7 separate regions of the Homo sapiens genome follow, and all the other regions are linked to region 3. The links are contacts of gene promoters, found by promoter capture Hi-C in blood cells and fetal thymus (Javierre and others, 2016). All regions are on one chromosome and are shown on one strand. The core of a region is centred on a gene start or on the middle of the fragment in contact, and the rest is flanking DNA. Distances in the headings are between cores, read along the strand shown. Region 1 has its middle 5.2 kb from the start of ME2. Region 2 overlaps ME2 (malic enzyme 2). Region 3 holds the start of STARD6 (StAR related lipid transfer domain containing 6). Region 4 overlaps SMAD4 (SMAD family member 4). Region 5 holds the start of LOC124904303 (a long non-coding RNA gene). Region 6 overlaps ELAC1 (elaC ribonuclease Z 1). Region 7 overlaps SMAD4 (SMAD family member 4).

Evidence for each region. Contacts are between HindIII fragments. The CHiCAGO score rates a contact against its expected background, and 5 or more counts as called.
Region 1: a contact is called between a fragment that was not itself captured here and the fragment with the promoter of STARD6 in region 3, in 3 of 17 cell types (naive CD8 T cells, total CD8 T cells and total CD4 T cells). The highest score is 13.7, in naive CD8 T cells.
Region 2: a fragment that was not itself captured here is called in contact with the fragment with the promoter of STARD6 in region 3 in 1 of 17 cell types (naive CD8 T cells); the score reaches 5.5 in naive CD8 T cells.
Region 4: a fragment that was not itself captured here is called in contact with the fragment with the promoter of STARD6 in region 3 in 6 of 17 cell types (naive CD8 T cells, non-activated CD4 T cells, total CD4 T cells and 3 more); the score reaches 19.2 in naive CD8 T cells.
Region 5: a contact is called between a fragment that was not itself captured here and the fragment with the promoter of STARD6 in region 3, in 2 of 17 cell types (total CD8 T cells and total CD4 T cells). The highest score is 6.8, in total CD8 T cells.
Region 6: a fragment that was not itself captured here is called in contact with the fragment with the promoter of STARD6 in region 3 in 2 of 17 cell types (naive CD8 T cells and activated CD4 T cells); the score reaches 5.8 in naive CD8 T cells.
Region 7: a fragment that was not itself captured here is called in contact with the fragment with the promoter of STARD6 in region 3 in 2 of 17 cell types (naive CD8 T cells and non-activated CD4 T cells); the score reaches 7.6 in naive CD8 T cells.

Annotation. Positions count from the first base shown.
Region 1 is chr18:50,872,582-50,875,281 of GRCh38, forward strand. No RefSeq gene overlaps it. Among named protein-coding and RNA genes, the nearest start is that of ME2, 5.2 kb to the right of the region's middle. The HindIII fragment of the contact is 2,517 bases long and covers 54-2,570 here.
Region 2 is chr18:50,892,652-50,895,351 of GRCh38, forward strand. The region is part of intron 1 of ME2 (malic enzyme 2); the gene reads left to right. Among named protein-coding and RNA genes, the nearest start is that of ME2, 15 kb to the left of the region's middle. The HindIII fragment of the contact is 5,661 bases long and covers 1-2,700 here.
Region 3 is chr18:54,356,415-54,359,114 of GRCh38, forward strand. STARD6 (StAR related lipid transfer domain containing 6) reads right to left here and starts at 1,444. Exons shown (of 8, transcript NM_139171.2): 1 at 1,378-1,444; 2 at 1-30. C18orf54 (chromosome 18 open reading frame 54) reads left to right here and starts at 1,492. Exons shown (of 9, transcript NM_001288980.2): 1 at 1,492-1,661; 2 at 2,360-2,456. RefSeq lists enhancers at 1,996-2,507, 2,009-2,078. The HindIII fragment of the contact is 3,120 bases long and covers 307-2,700 here.
Region 4 is chr18:51,035,619-51,038,318 of GRCh38, forward strand. All of the region lies in intron 1 of SMAD4 (SMAD family member 4), which reads left to right. Among named protein-coding and RNA genes, the nearest start is that of SMAD4, 6.8 kb to the left of the region's middle. The HindIII fragment of the contact is 9,660 bases long and covers 1-2,700 here.
Region 5 is chr18:51,017,323-51,020,022 of GRCh38, forward strand. The region is part of intron 1 of LOC107985152 (a long non-coding RNA gene); the gene reads right to left. It overlaps LOC124904303 (a long non-coding RNA gene), which reads right to left and starts at 964. Exons shown (of 2, transcript XR_007066372.1): 1 at 1-964. The HindIII fragment of the contact is 8,731 bases long and covers 1-2,700 here.
Region 6 is chr18:50,973,083-50,975,782 of GRCh38, forward strand. ELAC1 (elaC ribonuclease Z 1) reads left to right here. Exons shown (of 4, transcript NM_018696.3): 2 at 1,315-1,479. The coding sequence starts at 1,323. It also overlaps a transcript of LOC107985152 not described here. Among named protein-coding and RNA genes, the nearest start is that of ELAC1, 6.4 kb to the left of the region's middle. The HindIII fragment of the contact is 1,293 bases long and covers 740-2,032 here.
Region 7 is chr18:51,054,819-51,057,518 of GRCh38, forward strand. It overlaps SMAD4 (SMAD family member 4), which reads left to right. Exons shown (of 12, transcript NM_005359.6): 5 at 1-175. Among named protein-coding and RNA genes, the nearest start is that of SMAD4, 26 kb to the left of the region's middle. The HindIII fragment of the contact is 2,657 bases long and covers 1-2,579 here.

The DNA of each region.
Region 1 (2,700 bases), core at 62-2,561, 3.5 Mb before region 3:
TTACAGCGGGGAAGTCTTTCCCAGGTTGGGGAGTGGGGTGACATAATGCTCCAAGCTTACTTTCAAATCTTTCCAAGACACTGAACTGTACATAAACATATTTTAAAATATTCAGTCTGTACAGTGTAGTTTGTATCCTCTTTCCACTTATTAGTGGTACCCTTGGATGAATCAACCTCTAAGTCCTCAGTTTTCCCATATGTAAAATGGGGATAATAATTATACCTACCAGCTGGGCACAGTGGCTCATGCCTGTAATCTCAGCACTCTGGGAGGTCAAGGTGGGAGAATAGCTTGAGATCAAGAGTTCAGGAGCAGCCTGAACAACATAGCAAGACCTTGTCTCTACTAAAAATAAAAAACATTAGCTGGTTGTGGTGGTACATGCCAGTAGTCCCAGCTACTTGGGAGGCTGAGGCAGGAGGATTGCTTGACCCTGGGAGATCAAGGCTGCAATGAGCTACAATTGGCACTGCACTCCAGCGTGGGTGACAGAGCAATACCCTATCTTGAACAACAACAACGACAAAAACAGGAGTGGCACGGTGGCTCATGCCAGTAATCCCAATACGTTGGGAGGCCAAGATGGGAGGATTCGTTGAGTTCAGGAGTTCAAGACCAGCCTGGGCAACATGGCAAGACCCCAACCCCATCTCTAAAATAAAATAAAGAAAGAAACAGAAATAATTATACCTACTTGATAGCGTTGTTAGGATAATTAAATAATTTTAATATATACATGAGGTGGGCGGGGTACAGTGGCTCATGCCTGCAATCCTAGCACTTTGGGAGGCCAAGGGTGGATCACCTGAGGTCAGGAGTTCAAGACCAGCCTGGCCAACATGGCAAAACCCTGTCTCTACTAAAATTACAATAATTAGCTAGGTGTGGTGTCACACACCTGTAATCCCAGCTACTCAGGAGGATGAGGCAGAAGAATTGCTTGAACCTGGGAGGCAGAGGTTGCAGTGAGCCAAGATCATACCACTGCACTCCAGCCTGGGCAATAGAGCAAGACCCTGTCTCAGAAAAAAAAAAGTAAAAATAAATAAAATACACTAGGTGCCTTAGAGCAACGCTTAGCAAATAGTAAGTACTCAATGAATGGTAATTATTATTTATCAAACATCATCTATATGCCAGGCAGACAGCCTGCATGAGAATACTTTGCATCTGTATCCTTTTAATATTCACAAAACTCTTGCATATTTTGTGTCTCATTCCTCTTTTCAATGCCCTTTGAGATACATAGGGAAAGTTTAATTGTGTCCACCTAACCGGAGAAAAAGACATCCAGCCTCTTATTAAGACAGTGTGAGAGCTAGCCCTAGAATTCAAGTATTCCACACTCCCAAAGTGTGCTTTTTCCTTCGATGTAAATAAGTAAATGAACAAAATAAAACAAAAGCAAAAAGAAAAAATTTGAAGAACTGAGGCATTTGTCCAGATAATTTTCAAACATCCCCTCCATGCCTTCCACTCCCACCCCATAGGAATCCAAACAACCTTCCTTCTATCATTCCCTGATTATCTATAATTGGGGTGTCTAATTTATGGATAACTTATACTCTGCTTGGAGTTATATTTCTTGCTCAGCCATAGTTCTAGTCAAAAATTGTCAGGTTTTATCTTCATTTACTGGAGAGACCCTGCATTTAGAAGAGATTCTTTCCTTCTCTCAAGGATTATCCAGAAAGTGATTGAGCCATGTTTAGCCTTAAATCCTACCCTCACATTTTTGTGAAAAAGCCCATATTTGTATAAATCAACTCTAATTGGGTTTTCTGTTGTTGGGAGCTAAAAATCATTTCTAACAGTTACTGTTAAAATGCACAAAAATCTTGTTCCTGTCGTAATATCTTCATTTATATTTCCTCCTTTAGAATAGCTCATTAACTCTTATTAGGTCAAATTGAGGATGTCAAGTATAAACTACTAGTAGTAGATTAGTAATAATAGTAGTAAGGATAATCATAGTACTGTTTTGATTCTGTGTGCCCTGACCTACTATATATTAGACCTTAACATTCATTTTTAAAAACTCTATACTTGAAAAATAACTACACACTTACATTATTTCTGGAGACCTATGGATGTATATAATTCCCCTTGGTCTTTTAACTGATGAGACATCTTAGTGTCTCACTATAACTATTACTGGATCAAAGTAGCTTTTTTTTTTTGGAGACAGGGTCTCACTCTGTCACCTAGGCTGGAGTGCAGGGATGCGACCTCAGCTCAGTGCAACCTCCGCCTCCTGGGCTCAAGTGATCCTCCCACCTCAGCCTCCCAAGTAGCTAAGACTACAGGCATGCCCCATCAGGCCTGGCTAATTTTTTTTTTTTTTTTTTGTAAAGATGAGGTTTCACCATATTGCCCAGGCTGGTCTCAAACTCCTGTGCTCAAGCAATCCACCCACCTTGGCCTCCTAGAGTGCTGGGATTACAGGAGTGAGCCACCTCACTCAGCCCAAAATAGTATCATTTAAAGATGAAATAGCTCAATTCAAGCAAGAATGCTGGACAGATAGGGGATAAAAGGTAAATGCAAGAAAGCACAGTATTTTTCAAAGCTTAAGATGATCATGCAGAAAATTCACAACCAGTTGCAGAGTAATGACTACTTTATTTAACCCAGGAGTTATATCCGCCAGTGTAATTCTTGCCTGTAGAAACCAGCAGAGGGAAATTTCAGAAGGTT
Region 2 (2,700 bases), core at 182-2,681, 3.5 Mb before region 3:
TGCTGAAGTCTTCTTATTAGTTCTAGTATTTTTTTCAGTTGATTGTCTCAGATTTTCTAGGTGGCAGTTATATCATCTGCAGCTTTAGACCTTCGTTGTAAATGGGCCCAAAATAATGCTGCTTTTTTATTCTAAGAAAAACAATTCAGTGGAGTCATGAAGTGAAAAGTATAGCAAAAAATTACTCTTTAAGGGCAGGTGCAGTGGCTCACGCCTGTAATCCCAACACTTTGGGAGGCCGAGGTGGGCGGATCACAAGGTCAGGAGTTCGAGACCAGCCTGGCCAACATGGTGAAACCCTGTCTCTACTAAAGATACAAAAAATCAGCTGGGTATGGTGGCGCACACCTGTAATCCCAGCTACTCGGGAGGCTGGGGCAGGAGAATCACTTGAAACCGGGAGGCAGAGGTTGTAGCGAGCCAAGATCGTGCCATTGCACTCCAGCCTGGGCAACTGGGTAAGACTCTATCTCAAAAAAAAAAAAAAAAAAAAAAAAAAAACACCTTTAAATTTGCTTCAATACTTATTATAAAATAATAAGCATAAATATACAGAATAATAGTAATAAAGAGTGTATATGCAAAATTGTAATTTTATGGTATTTTGAACTTAAAGCATCAAGATGGTAGCATAAATTAATTTCTAAAAAGAAACCTGAACACTTACTTTTCATCATGGTTATTTCTGCTACACTATTACGGCTATGATAAAAATCCAGCAATGAAAAAGGATGAGGATAATGATGTAGCACCTGCTTAATGAATAAGACCATTCAGATGAGCAAAATACATAATTTCAATATGTTGTGTTACCTTTCCCCTGAAAAGGCCATCAGGAATTTGTTAGAGTTTGATGCCTCCCCAGTAGTTAGCCTTGGTAACTGAGGAAGTAATTGGCTTGTGTTTGACTCAAAAAGTTTGTGTAGGCTCAGCTACTGGTTATTTTTCTGTCTTACTGTCTTTTGAACAGCTCAGATATTTCTTAAAAGGGTCTCAAATCTCCTACGTGTGATTTTGTAGTTTTGTTCTACTGACAGAACATATTCAGAAATTAAATCATTTTTTTAACAATACATTGAAGATTTTCTACTGCTGCCTTTTCCTCTTACTCTTTCTGCTCTTCCCATTTTCTACATTCTTTGTCAGTGTTTTCTTAAGGCCCACAATTAATTCTTAAATTTCTTCTTTGAAGCTGTGAACAAAACCATCCCTACTATCTTGGCCTGGCTACCTGTACAGTGTTTTCCACTTTTTTGACAAAGAACAGGAAACCTTTTAAATCATTCAGACATTCTTTTCATTTATGTCCTTCATGCTTTAATTATTTACAGTTTAATTACATCTATGACTATTTAATATGAGTGAAACATTCTTGGCAATGTTGAAGGTCTTCTAACCCTGACTGCGTCATATTTAATATCAGGCTTACCATCCATACATGGATGTGTTGATGAAACTCTAAGCCTCATACAAGTGGTCTTGAAACATCAAATCACACTTGATTTCAAAGGTTGATGGATGGAAGTGGTATGGGAGGCAGAAAACAACTTCAGCAAAGTTACTTGCAAACTGGAGTGTTTCAGTGTCCAGGAATAAATGATCAAGCAACACATTTAAAACATCCCTTTTTGGCCGGGCGCGGTGGCCCACGCCTGTAATCTCAGCACTTTGGGAGGCCGAGGCAGGTGGATCACCTGAGGTCAGGAGTTCAAGACCAGCCTGGCCAACATGGTGAAACCCTGTCTCTACAAAAATACAGAAAAAAAATTAGCTGGGCATGATGGCGGGTTCCTGTAATCCCAGCTACTCAGAAGGCTAAGGCAGGAGAATAGCTTGAATCCGGGAGGCAGAGGTTGCAGTGAGCCGTGATCGCGCCGTTGCACTCCAGCCTGGGTGACAGAAAGAGACTCCATCTCAAAAAAAAAAATCCCTATTTTGGCCGGGAACGGTGGCTCACGCCTGTAATCCCAGCACTTTGGGAGGCCGAGGCAGGCAGATCACAAGGTCAGGAGATCGAGACCATCCTGGACAACACAGTGAAACCCCTTATATACTAAAAATAAAAATACAAAAAAATTAGCTGGGCGTGGTGGCGGGCGCCTGTAGTCCCAGCTACTCGGGAGGCTGAGGCAGGAGAATGGCGTGAACCCGGGAGGTGGAGCTTGCAGTGAGCTGAGATCATGCCACTGCACTCCAGCCTGGGCAACAGAGCGAGACTCCATCTCAAAAAAAAAAAAAAAATTTTTTTGAAATGCCTCTGAATTGTTCAGTTTAAAATGGTTACTTTTATGATATATGAGCTTCAAAAAAAAAAAAAATCCTTATGTAAATGGTTTTGCTGCCCCTTCACACATATCATGGATTTCTCCACAAATAGAAATCCATTTTAAAAAACTTCACAGCATAATAATTACAATGATTTGTAATGTTTAAAGAAATAAATAAGCATTTCAAATTCTGATTTTTGGTGAGATAATTGGTAAGTAGAAGACTATTATCACTAAATATTTTAGATTTAATGTATAGTTTTCTCTTTAAAAATGTCCATGTTTATGATGGATGCAATTATTTTATACATTATTTTATATAAAGTAATTACAATTACTTTATATGTTTTCTAGCCAATTTATATGATTTGTTTATATTAAATAACAGGTTTTCTAAGACAAAAAATTCTAGTACGTTAAATTTAAACATTAA
Region 3 (2,700 bases), core at 194-2,693:
ATCCTTGTGGAAATCTCCATATCTCTTAACCTGTGAGGAAACAAGGCAGAAGTAGAATTATTTTGATCCATGAATTAGGTCAATATATTTGATAATTTTCTTTATATCTTCTCAGTGTCCTTTATCTATACTTTGTCTTCATTAGGAAACATTTGCTACATATATGCCCCAAGATGAAAGAAAAATATAGTACAAAAAACTTTAAAAGATACTGTTTATAAAAAGAATCTTTAAGAAACTATTTTAAAGGAACTCAGTTTAAAAAGACACTTAGGTGGAACGTGGATACAAAAATTTAAGTTTTTAAGCTTACGTCACTAACAATTAACAAGGATTGTTAATCCCCGACCAGGGCTCGTCTTAGCATATAAAACACCGTTCTTGATTTCCTATTGGAAACCTACTTGATATTAATTGATCTAGAGACTTTGAAGATTATTGGGACATACCACTAGCAGGGTATGTCTTATTTTCAAATCACCAACTATTACTGCCACAATAGACCTGTGTTTAACCACTAAACTGAACGTTATAGCTTCCGGACTTTTTCATTTGCTAAGAGAAAAGGGAAGGTAAAATTTAGTAGGCTACAAAGGGTAAAAAGAAGAAAGTGCAAACAGTAAGACTACAATTGTATTACATGGTGGTGGAACGTCGGATGAGCTGGAACATATTCAGATGGACTCATGGTCAAGGATATCTTCACTCATAGGGTCAGTGGAAAATAAACATAAACCAACATTGGGATGGCCTCTTTTTTTGATACACCAATTGGTTGAAACTGGATTCCTTCCAGACTTACAGACAGGTTCACACATGTTAGTGAGTCTTTACATCTGTTTGTACAATGACCCTCTTTCTGAGCTGCCTGACTGGGTCCCCAATCCGTGCGGGGTCACTGCCATTCTTCCCTGGGAATCAAGGCTTCCTAGGAGTTTGTTAAATCCCATCCCTGGCTAAACTCGGGTCTCCAATCTCCCATCTGCTTTGTGTGTGAGAGGCTCCGGGGTGTGAGAGGAAAGGCACTGAAGAGGGAGTGAAAGAAGTGGTGAGGGGGGACTGCCTACTAGCTGAGACGATATCTTATTTTTGGCGGGGGATGCTCTGGAAGCGGGGAGGCTGAACTCACTTGGAAAAACTGGAGCTGTGGGGCAGACTCTCAGCGACCGGAACGACAGCCGCCAGCGCCCTTAAGTCTCCCTCCCCACCCAGTCCCCTCCCGCAGACCCCGGGGCCGGCTGAAGGGAGATCAGCAAGTCCCCGCGCAAACTGGCCGAGAATAGCTGTGACGGAGGTTGGAAGGGCGTGGGGGGCAGCGACTTGGATGCAGCCCACATCCCCCCATTCCCAGCCCCAGAAAGGAGGGAGAAACAGCACCTTCCAGCAGGGGTCGCGACCTAACGCTCAACAGCATCCTCTCTTCTCCGGCCGCTCCCTCATCTCCGCTCGCGCCCGGCGCCCCACTGCCGCGCATGCGCACCGCAGGCCGGCGCCATGTTGGGGCGGTTTGAAAGCGAGCGCGGGTGTCGAGCTCTGCTGTGACTGCGGAGGAAGCTGCGAGTGAGCCGAGCCTGAGGCGGGGCGGTGTCCGGGTTGGGGATGCTTTGTGGTGTCTCGCGTTGGGTAACAGGCCTGAGCTTTCGGCGGAGAGCTGTGGAAGTGTGCGGTTTTTGTTTTTGTTTTCCTTTATTTTTATTTTGGGGCCTTAGGGGTGAGTTAGGACGGAAAGGAGGGTGTCTTTTCGAGGGTTGTCCCATCCTGTGACAGCCGAGAAAAGGCGAAAGGAGAGTGGCGAGGAAAGAGGAGGAGACGTCTCCTGAGGGAGGGCGCTTGTGGAGTCTCTGTGGAAGGAAGAACACTGTAGGGGGAGTGCCCCCTGGGCGAGGGAGGGTCGCGGGACGCGGCGGAGGGGGCTCACACGGGCGTCTGCGGACCTGAGGCGGCGACAGGAAGGGGCTTGCGCTCTGGGGCTGTCGCTTCGGAACACTTCTCCTTCAGTCCATTGCTGCGCTCGCCCTGGCTGCTGAATAAATGGTTTCGGAGTGAAAAGCATCTCACTGAAGAACTTGTCTGTGTCTGTGACTGACGGGCGGTGGAACACCAAAGGGAGGGTGTCGCCTGATTGGGACTGGAAAAATTGGAATTCAGGGCGCCCGGGGTAGGGGAACGATGCGCACTGCTGGAGACGGGCGACCTTCGCTGGCCGGTCGGTGGGTTCCTGGTTTTCTGCTGCCGAGTAAACAAACGTTCCCTTTCCTAACTTAGCAGTCACAGAGCTATTTCCAAGAGTTGTTCTTAATTTCCTGTGCGATATTCCCATTGGCTATTTAACACTGAACATTCTGTTTTTGAATCAAAGTTAGTTAAAATTTGTTGTCAATAAGTTTAACATTCTGTTCTTCCGCGTGATGGATTTTCTTTTGGAGATTCGAACTGAAGCCTGTACGGAGGAAATGGTAAGATATATGGGATTTGCATGAGATATGTGGGGTTCAAAATAATCCTGTGGCTGAAGTGGGGAGAAGTGGGTGGGTCCCTACCCACTTTAGCTACAATTGGGGTCTGTTCAGCGATTGTTGGAAGCAGGATGATGAGTACATAGGGGTTTATTGAACGATTCTACTTTTGTATACTCTTTTGGGGAAAAGTTGGAAAACTTTTCATAATGAAACTTAAATTGTGCATTTTCTTTTTGTCTGT
Region 4 (2,700 bases), core at 127-2,626, 3.3 Mb before region 3:
ACTTAACTGGTTTCTGAGAGGCAGGTTGCATTGGGCTTTTTCTGTCAGGGCTTAATTAATACACTGTGAGACATTTGCTCAGCTAGGCCAGCTAGCTAGTACTTCTGTAGAGATCATCTAGGGCATGTTCAGCTCTCCATTTACATCACCTGAAGTAGTTCCCAAGTGCTGGGCTATGGAGTAGTTTCATCTCTGTCTCTGGAAGAGCTATTTAAAAAAATAAAAATATTTTTTCCCATCTGATTGCAACACACATGCTGCTTCAGAATGGGAATGGAGTGGAGGAGGCATGGGAATCTGTGTTATTTTTAAAAAGTGCCTCTTGATTCTAAAGGTTTTGTTTATTTTGGTATGCTTATCCTTACTGCTTTATTTATCTATTTTTTAGAGACAGGTTGCCCAGGATGGAGTGCAGTAACATCATCATAGCCCTCTATAACCTTCAACTTCTGGGTTCAAGAGATCTTGCCTCAGCCTCCAGAGTAGCTAGGACTACAGGCCGGCACCACCACGCCTGGCTGATTTTTTTAAAACTGTTTTGTAGAAATGGGGGGGCGGGGGTCTTGCTTTGTTGCCCAGGCTAGCCAAATCTTATTTATGATTTAAAACTAGGAATGCTACCGAATATATATTTTTATAGTAAGGTATTATTTCTGTATGTTAATATGGATGAATGTATGCTACTCAGGTCTTTTCAAGTCAAAATGTATTTCTAAATATAAGATGAATTAAGGATATTTGTCAGTGATATTCACTAGTGAATTCTAGAGCATATGTTATCAGTAGATGGGCAGTCCTTGTAAAAATTGAATAATCTAGTGAAAGGATGACCGGAAATAATATTTAATGGGGTAAGCTAAGCCAGGAATCATTGTACATAAACACATTAGGTGTGTCTTACATCATAAATATGCCTACTAAAACTAGTTGAAGGAAGAATGTGTATAGATGCTGAAATAATGAAGGGGCTGGCTAATTGTAAGGAAAAATGATACAACTTCTATATAATTAGTCTTTTTAATCAGTTGCATATACTCATGATACTTAATTTGTAAAGTAAAGATTGTAGACTAGATCAATGCTTTGTAAAACTAACAGTACCTCAGACTTCCAGAGTGTTTTTTAAAGGTACAGCCCCACCCTTGATTCTAGTTAGTGGAGCTGGCCTAACCTGCGGGGGATTTTGATACATCCCCCTTTGAAGGAATAAGCTAGATGACTTGAAACTCTGCTTCAGTTAAAAGTTTTATGAAATGAGGCCGGGTGCGGTGACTCACGCCTGTAATCTCAGCACTTTGGGAGGCCAAGGGGGGTGCGGATTACCTGAGGTCAGGAGTTTGAGACCAGCCTGACCAACATGGTGAAACCCCGTCTCTACTAAAAATACAAAAATTCATTGGGCATGGTGGCACATGCCTGTAATCCCAGCTACTCACATGCCTGTAATCCCAGCTTCTTGGGAGGCTGAGGCAAGAGAATTGCTTGAGCCTGGGAGACAGAGGTTGCAGTGAGCTGAGATTGTGCCACTGCACTCCAGCCTAGCTGACAGAGCGAGACTGTCTCAAAAAAACAAAAAAAGTTTTATAAAATGTATTTTTCAGTTATCAGTTATTAAAATTCAGTTTGGTTTCCACCATCTTTTAAAACAGTGGTTCCCAAAGTATGGTCCACAGACTCCTGGAGATCCCTAGGATCCTTATATTTAAGGGGTTCACAAAATCAAAATTATTTTCATAATGAAACTGAGACGTTATTTGCCCTTTCACTGTGAGGACATTTGTATGGGTGGTGAAGGAGCAGTGGTGGGTAAACTGCTGGCACTTTAAAATGACTCTAGGCAGTTATACCAAACATATGAGTCCTCATTGTGTTCTTTATAGTCAAACACACATAAGCATTTGAAAAAATGCCGGTTTCACTTAATAATCCCCTTGCTGCAGCAGTAAAAAGGTTTAATTTTAAAAAAATCTCTACCTTGGAGTATGTCTTTTTAATAGTGTGATTAAATGGGAAGTATGCATAAAGCATTTCTGCACATTGAAGTACAGTGTTCTTTTCTAGGAAAAGCACTTGTGTTATTGAGCTGCAAGCTGAACTAGCTGCTTTTTAGTGGGACACCATTTTTATTTTTATTTAACAGGATGACAGATAAGCTCAGATAGCTATTTAGATTTGAGTATTTGGCAGGTAATTCCTTGGAAATGAATAAAGTGAGCTGGCCACTTCGAGGAGAACATTTATAGCCAGTGCTAAAATCTGATGTTTCAAGTGAAAATCAGATTTTTGGGAAACTCCTGTCACTATGACTTGCCAGTTTCTTAATACTTAAAGACTTTTCTGATGAGATGGGTGGTGATATTAAGGAATGTGATTAAAAAAAATATGTTGGGCTGGGCACGATGATGCACACCCATATTTCTAGCACTGTGGGAGGCGGAGGTGGGAGAATTGCTTTTGGCCAAGAGTTCGAGACCCTGTTTCTACAATAACATATAAAAATTAGGTGTAGTGGCATGTAGTTCTAGCTGCTCAGGAGGGTGAGGTGAGAAGATTGCTTCAGCCAGGGAGTTCAAGGCTGGATTAAGCTAGGATCGCACCACTGCACTCGGGCCTAGGCTACAGAGCGAGACTGTGGGGGGGGGGGCAGTATGAGGAAGTGTGTCAACACTGGGAAGATCTGTGTAACTCATTGAACCAATA
Region 5 (2,700 bases), core at 79-2,578, 3.3 Mb before region 3:
TACCAACAAAGAACACTCTCTGGGGAGCTTTTGTGGACTGTGGTTAGGCCTGCAGTCAGGACCCGCATTCTAACTAACCAGTGTAGCCTCTGGCAAGTGCAGAGCCACTTTGCAGCTCCCTGGCAATGGAGATGATCTGTGTACTGGGGAAGGCAGCTGGGCCCAGAGGGGCTTTTGAACCACAGCATTTTTCTTAAAGATGGGGGATGTTATTGTTGAACCAGGTAGGAGGTGACCTGGGAACCAGCCTCCCTGAAAAGGAGGAGGGAGGGAAACACCTATGCCCAGGGTTATGTGGTGCTATTTCCTTCCTGATTAAAGATGTAGATGCCTTGGTACCCGAGCCCTGGAGGAGGCTCCCTCAACCTGAGAAAGCACTGTGCTGCAGCTCATCCTGGGAGCCGGCTCCCCTGGGTGGTACAGCACAGAGGGAAGGAAGGGGGCCGCAGTTCAAGGGCAGCAGCTGGGAGAAGCATGTCAGAAGTGCCAGGGAAGCAAAAGTCGGCTAGGGAAAGGAAAGGGGAGGAAGGAAAAGCAGAGAGGCAGCAGCAGCTCTGGGAGAAAGGGACAGCAGACATTAGAGGGGCGAGTGTTCTGGGAGCCTCAGAGCAGTGATGGATTTTCCATCTTTCCTTGGAGGAGGGGCTGGGTCTTGGAATCCCCTCCCTTCTCTGCCCCTTACACACAGTTTGTCCTGAGGAGCAGACATGAGGTCTGTGCTCACCCAAGCGCTCACAGTCTCCTTCTCTCTTCAATACCCATCTGCTGGGCCTAATTCTTACCTCAAAAAGGTAACTCTTGATTATTCTTAAAAGTTTAAAAAAAAATAGTAACTGTGATTCTGGTCTAAGCTAAAATTATTTTTCCTCAAGGTTGTCTCCCAAGAAAAATGCTTAAAGAGGCCGGGCACGGTGGCTCATGCCTGTAATCCCAGCACTTTGGGAGGCCGAGGTGGGCGGATCACCTGAGGTCAGGAGTTCAAGACCAGCCTGGCCAACACGGTGAAACCCCATCTCTACTAAAAAATACAAAAATTAGCCAGGTGTGGTGGTGAGCACCTGTAATCCCAAGTACTCAAGAGGCTGAGGGAGGAGAATTGCTTGAACTTGGGAGGTGGAGGTTGCAATGAGCCGAGATCATGTCATTGCACTCCAGCCTGAGTGACAGAGTGAGACTCCCTCTCAAAAAAAAATAAATAAATAAATAAGAAAAATGCTTAAAGAATATGGAAATAATTTGGTGGTGTTTAGGTAGATTGTTTTCCTCCTCAGAGTTGAAAGTAACACAGATATTCATTAACTTTTATCACTGAAATGACACCATAGCACTGTAGCCCAGGCTGGAGTGCAATGGTGCAATCTCAGCTCAGTGCAACCTCCACCTCCCTGGCTCGAGCGCTTCTCCTGCCTCCACCTTCTGAGTAGCTGGGATTACAGGCACATACCACCATGCCTGGCTAATTTTTGTATTTTAGCAGAGACGAGGTTTTGCCATGTTGGCCAGGCCAGTCTCAAACTCTTGACCTCAAATGGTTTGCCTCGGCCTCCCAAAGTACTGGGATTACAGGCGTGAGCCACCGTGCCTGGCAGGTTTGTTTTGGATGAACTTGTCATTTCCAGCACTCCCTGCTTGTGATGTTCTCTCTTGTACCTGTGACACTGAGGAAAACCGTTAGATGCCAAGTTCACCTGAGGGACTAAAATCTGTCTAGATGTAAGTCTGATCTGGCGTCTACTGGGGGAAGGGAAAGACTGGATAAACTGTGTTTCAGTTCATATCCATTGCCATTCAATTCTGCATTCTAAGATATGGCAACCAGTAGGCTCACTCTACATGTTTATTCAACGGAAACGATGTCCGAAAATTTAACTTTCATCACAAAGCATTTTAGGTGGGTAGAATCATGACTGTGAACTGTCTCCTAAATAATTTAGTGTTCCATTATTCCCCTCCCCAGTACATTTTAGATTTAGGTCCTACACAGTTCTAGACCCTGGATTCTAGGGCTTTGCCTCTGGAACCAGCGGTATTGGCCTCACTTGAGAGCTTATTAGAAATGAAGAGTCTCCAGCCCACCCTCAAATCCAAGGAATCAGGATTTACTTTTTAACATGCTCCCCAAGTGATCTGTGTGCATGTTAAAGTAGGAGAAATGCTGCTCTGAGGCATCTGATCAGCAGGCCCTCCCAGGCCCTGGCTTCAGGGTAGAGCTATTTGGGTTGCAGATAGCACCATGCCACACTCTGTGGGCAGAGAGTTCAAATTCCAGCTCTGCTGTGAACCTCATCACAGGGACAAGTGACCTAAAATTAAAAAAAAAAAAAATCAAACTCACAGAAAAGTCGCAAGAATAGTACAAAGGGCCGGGCATGGTGGCTCATGCCTGTAATCCCAACACTTTGGGAGGCCGAGATGGGTGGATCACGAGGTCAGGAGTTCAAGACCAGCCTGGCCAACATGGTGAAACCCTGTCTCTACTCAAAATAAAAAAAATTAGCTGGGCGTGGCGGCACACACCTGTAATCCCAGCTACTTGGGAGACTGAGGCAGGACAATGGCTTGAACCCGGGAGGCGGAGGTTGTGGTGAGCCGAGATCGTGCCACTGCACTCCAGCCTGGGTGACAGACCGAGACTCCATCTCAAAAAAAAAAAAAAAAAAAAGAATAGTACAAAGAACTTCTGTAAATACTTTACCTAGA
Region 6 (2,700 bases), core at 136-2,635, 3.4 Mb before region 3:
GCTAACTTTATTTCTGGTAATTTTGTTTTTGCTCTTAGAATGGGTTTTTCCCCCATTTCTGTTTTTATCTTGTTATTGCTAAGACTGAGAAGAGTTACTGAAGTTTTTGTATATTTTATATCTAGCTGTCAGTCAAATTCTCTTACAGTAGTTTTTCTTAAGCTTCTTTGTTTTCTTCCCTGCCATCAATGTGGATAATCTATAATCAGTTATGTATAAATTTCAGTTCATTCTAATATATTCTGTTTGATACATATATTCCATCTCAGAAGTATATCAGTGATGTCAGATGTACCTAGAAATAGTGAAAGGAATAGTGCCAGGAGTTGGAATAAACCTGCACATTCAACAGGTTGTTGCTGATCACTTAAAATAGCAGAGTCCCAAGTCCTCGTGAGTCATGGACCATGTCATGTAGGGAGTGAGACATTTGTTCAGCATTATTGTGAAATATCAGCATGACTATAGAGCATAATAGAGCATTACTGTTATGATTGTTCAGAGAAAGGGAAAGGGCTGATCATTATGGGCATCAGAGACACCATATGGTGAGTATCATTAAATACCATCTCTTGCCCTGTATCTCAACTAGAGTTGTTGTTGTTTAGTGTTTATTAGAAGGATTTTTTTTAAAAAAATTAGTAAGTAGAAAGTACAGAGTGTTCCCATATACTCTCTTATCCCTCACCCCTCAGTTTCCCCTTATTAACATCTTGCATTAATGCGGTATATGTTCAGAAGCTTAAGGGCTCATGAAAAAAAAATGAAAAATGTGCTACATGTGTTACAGTTGTTGAGCCAATATTGATACAGATACACTGTCAACTAAAGTTTACATTAGAGCTCATTCACTCTAGTGGTGTTTATTCTGTGTACAGTTGACCAATGTATAATGACATATGTCTGTCTTACTGTATCATACAGAATCGTTTCACTGCCTTAAACATCCCCTGTGCTCTGCCTGTTCATTCTTCCTTCTCTCACCCTGTATCACTAGCAAGCACGATTTTTACTGTCTCCATAGTTTTGCCTTTTTGAGAACATCATATAGTTAGAATTCAGCTATAGTTTTTAATTGCCTGGGTTTGGTTATTTTTGTTTGTTTGGGTGTGTGAACAATTATACAAGATTTGTTAACTTGTAGTTTTAGCCAAGTTATTAAAACCTTACTGTGGATATGTGTGGAATACTATGAGAGACCAAGAATCCAGACTGTTCTAAATAACCAAAAAGTAATAATAGAGATAAATATTACAGGAATATGTTTTTGGTACAGTGATATGAAATAATCCCCAGATGATCTTTCTGTTGCAGGGTGGAAGATGTCTATGGATGTGACATTCCTGGGGACGGGTGCAGCATACCCATCTCCAACCCGGGGTGCCTCTGCTGTGGTCCTTCGGTGTGAAGGCGAGTGCTGGCTCTTTGACTGTGGGGAGGGAACACAGACACAGCTTATGAAAAGCCAACTTAAAGCAGGTTAGTGTGCCTTCAGCTATCTCATTAAGATTTTTTTGTTGTTCTGCTTCATTTTCTTGGCTCTCCTTGGACATTTTGTTTAGAAACAGCCCTGATGGTTGCATCCCACTTCAGTGCTACACCCTGGTGAGACTTGGAAGGCCTGCAGGCATCTGGCCACGTCCACTGAACTTCATTTACTTATTTACTTGCTTTTCATTTATCCTGTAGATGCTGAAAGCAAGGATTCATGTAGGCTTGGGGTTTGGGAAATGTCGTGGGATACACCAGGCATATTAGATGAACACTGCCTTAGCAAGGAAGCAGTGTACATACTTACCTCCACCAGGAGATAGTTTTCATGAGAGGATGCAAAGGGTAGGAAATGTTTGGAGGAGGGAGATGTTGTTTTCCTCTTGGGGTTATCAGGGTAAACTTCTCAGAGAAGTTGACCTGTGGATTGTCAAAGGAGGAGGAGGAATTTCAGGGCTGAGGAGAAGAAGGGCATTTCAATCAGGGGGAATGGAGTGAGCAGAGGCCAGCACCTGGGAGATAGAGCAGTCCAGTGGTGAAAAGCTTCAGCTCAGAGTCAGGCAGACCTGGGTTCTAGTCCTGGCTGTGTCTTGGGCCTGTGACCTTAGCATATCAGCAAACTTCAACTTTACTTTCCCGATCTTGAAAATGGGGATAAAAAGTCTACTTAGAAAGGGTGTTATGAGAATTACATGTAATCATTTATTCTCTGTGTGATTGCCTCTTTCTCAGTTAAATCTTAGCTCAGATGCCATCTTCTCAGAGGCTTTCCCAAATCCTCCTGGATTAAGTAGTTCCTCTCTCACCCCAGTCATTCCTTTACTTTGTCCTATTTTTATTGACTTCTTAGCATCATCAGTATCTGAAATTATGTTATTTAGTTTGTTTCTGTGTTCTTTATCTCCCTATACTGTAAAGTACGTTCCATGATCATTTATATACCTAGTAGATGCCTAGTTATATCTGTTCAACTAGGCATCTACTAAGTATATAAATGATCATGGAACTTACTTTAGTGAATGGATAAGACGTTTAGCAACTTAGCACAGTGCCTCTCACTTATTAGGTCTTGATAAATAGTATTGAAGTCATTATTCCTACAACTCTTCACAGTACCTGGCACTTGGTGACTAAAGGAAAGATACTTCTAGTGTTCAGGGATCTCTTGGTCCAGTGATGGAAACTGACATGCAAACGGACAGTAATCAA
Region 7 (2,700 bases), core at 1-2,500, 3.3 Mb before region 3:
GACTTTGAGGGACAGCCATCGTTGTCCACTGAAGGACATTCAATTCAAACCATCCAGCATCCACCAAGTAATCGTGCATCGACAGAGACATACAGCACCCCAGCTCTGTTAGCCCCATCTGAGTCTAATGCTACCAGCACTGCCAACTTTCCCAACATTCCTGTGGCTTCCACAAGTGAGTTCTAGAATCAGATGTAGTCAGCAAGTTGAGTTTTCCTAATCATTGCTTATTTATGTGTAGTCACTTGGGGGGAAACTCCAAGTAAGTAAACATTAAAAGTAACTGTAGTATCTTTCATAGGTAAACAGGTATTAAACAGGTATGCACAATCACTTGGAATTTAAGTAATGGCTTTGATTATAATATTGATTTAAATTAATGATCTGATTTATACTTTACTATTACATGTAGCAGTAAGTAGCCTCTTAAGCTCCCAGATATATTTTGGAGAAATATTTAAATAATTAACAAGTAGTTTTGATCCAAGATGTTTATGAAGGTCTGTGTTAATGGAATTGCAACCTTTCTTTTAATGCGGTGTTCTTATTTTGGTTTTTCTGGGACAATATTACCTTATAGTAGTTGTCTGATTTTCTCACTGTGCAAAGGGATCTTGACAAATTTGTTATATATTGCTCAAGATAGACATTAATTAAGTCAATTTTGATATAAGCTAACTTCTATATCTCTTTTTAAAATATATGTGTAATTAAAAAAAAAAAGTGTTTCAGAAAGATCCTTCTTTTCTGCCATGTCATAGGAGGGAGAGGGGCTGCTAGGTTCAGGTTTTTGGGGGCATGATCATATGACCTGGTTCTGTTACTTATTTTCACAGTAACCAAAGGTTTGATAGTTTGCTGCTTGGCAAATGAAGTAGCTTTTTTTTCATTTTTTTTTTTTCAATTAATCATAGAGCATTGTCTTGGCATGTGTATGGTGTTAGTTGCATGCAGTTGCTAAAGGAATTTATGTAAACCCACATCAGAATAGATTTTTGACAGCTCTGGGCTAATACTGTGTTAGTTGCTACCGAAAGTACCATTATTGTATTTGCTTTACTATCAGATTAGATTCAACATAGAAATTTTGATCTTTGGAATAAATGGGGGACTGATTTCTGTAATTGTGAGTTTTCAAGTGAAGTATACCAGAATTTCCCCTTTAATTCATTACACCACTTCAAAGCAACATGTTTTTGGTTTGCTATCTAAGAGATGACAGTCTCACTATAGGCAGCATATTCTAAATGGGTCATATAGGTTAAGCACTTGAGAACCCAGTTCCTTAATCACTTGGTGCTTCTATTATCTGTCTACTTTTTATTTACCAAATTAGGAATATGGTTGACAAACAGTGGGTAGTGATAGAAAATAAAAGAAGGTACATTATAGCCACTTGAACGTAGATTAGTGCTAGAGCACAGCTACCTACTTCTGTTTATATTATCTGGAGATTGAATTTCTGTGCCTTTGTCAATGCTTACTAAAGTGACTTCATTTTGACTGTGTTGTTTCCTGAGGTTGAATCCTATTCAAAGATTAGAAAAAGTGATAGAAATGAAATGCAGCTAATTTTATCCTGGTATTTATTGGGTAGATTTTAATAATCGAATACCGTAAATACTGTAAGTTTTAGAACTTGTGTCAAAATGTTCCCTTATGTGGTGGCATGCGCCTGTAGTCCCAGCTGCTCCGGGGGCTGAGGCAGGAGAAATGGCGTGAACCCGGGAGGCGGAGCTTGCAGTGAGCAGAGAGCGAGTCACTGCACTCCAGCCTGGGCGACACAGCGAGACTCCATCTCCAAAAAAAAAAAAAAAAAAAAAAAAGAGGGTTCCCTTAGGTCTCAAAAAGTATATTGATGAAAAGAAGTTGAACTAAAATAGAAGATTTGAAAGGCTATTTTACGTGAGCTGATTTAGTCGTATTGTTTAACTTTATTTTACATACTTAGAATTGTATAAGGGAAGTATTCAGTATGGATAACTACAGTGAGTCACTTTACAATTTATGTTCTTTTGACACCTGAATATTTTAAGAATTTCCTTTTAAATACCTGTAAATTAAAATAATTTATCCTGTGTAGTTAATGACAATTTTTGTAAGTTAGCTAAGAGTATTGCCTGTAGAATTGTTAAAAATATGAACAAAACCATAATTAACCTTTAAAGATAACTTGCAGAATCTGGGGGATGAGTAGGAAGGGAGGTTGCTAAAATGTCATTTTTACAGATAAATAATTTGGGGAGTATTGAAATATTCTCTTTAGCTTTTGGTTTTGTAATTCTTAGCTTTAAGGAAATGTGATATGTAAAGAAAAGAAAAATATTCCTTTTCTTTGATACTTTGAGCAATGGTGACATGTTACTCTCTTCCATCTGATTATACTCCCATTTAGAAAAGAATGAGGTGATGCCAGTTATAAATAATTATAACTTTAGTGCTTTCCAAATAGGATTAACAGTCGAGTTAATTAATGCTCTTTAAGAAACCAAATTTCCACTTTAAAAAAAAAGCCTTAAAAATGTAGGACAGTAAGCAATATCATAGGATGGTTTTTGAATAGAATACAAGCCAAGAGAAGCTTGATTCTCTTGGTATATTACATACAGAGAGGGCAATTAATTTCTTGTACATCTGGGAATATGATGGTGTTCTTGAAAAGAAATGATTCTTGGTTTATAAAAGCTCTTGAAAAAATTT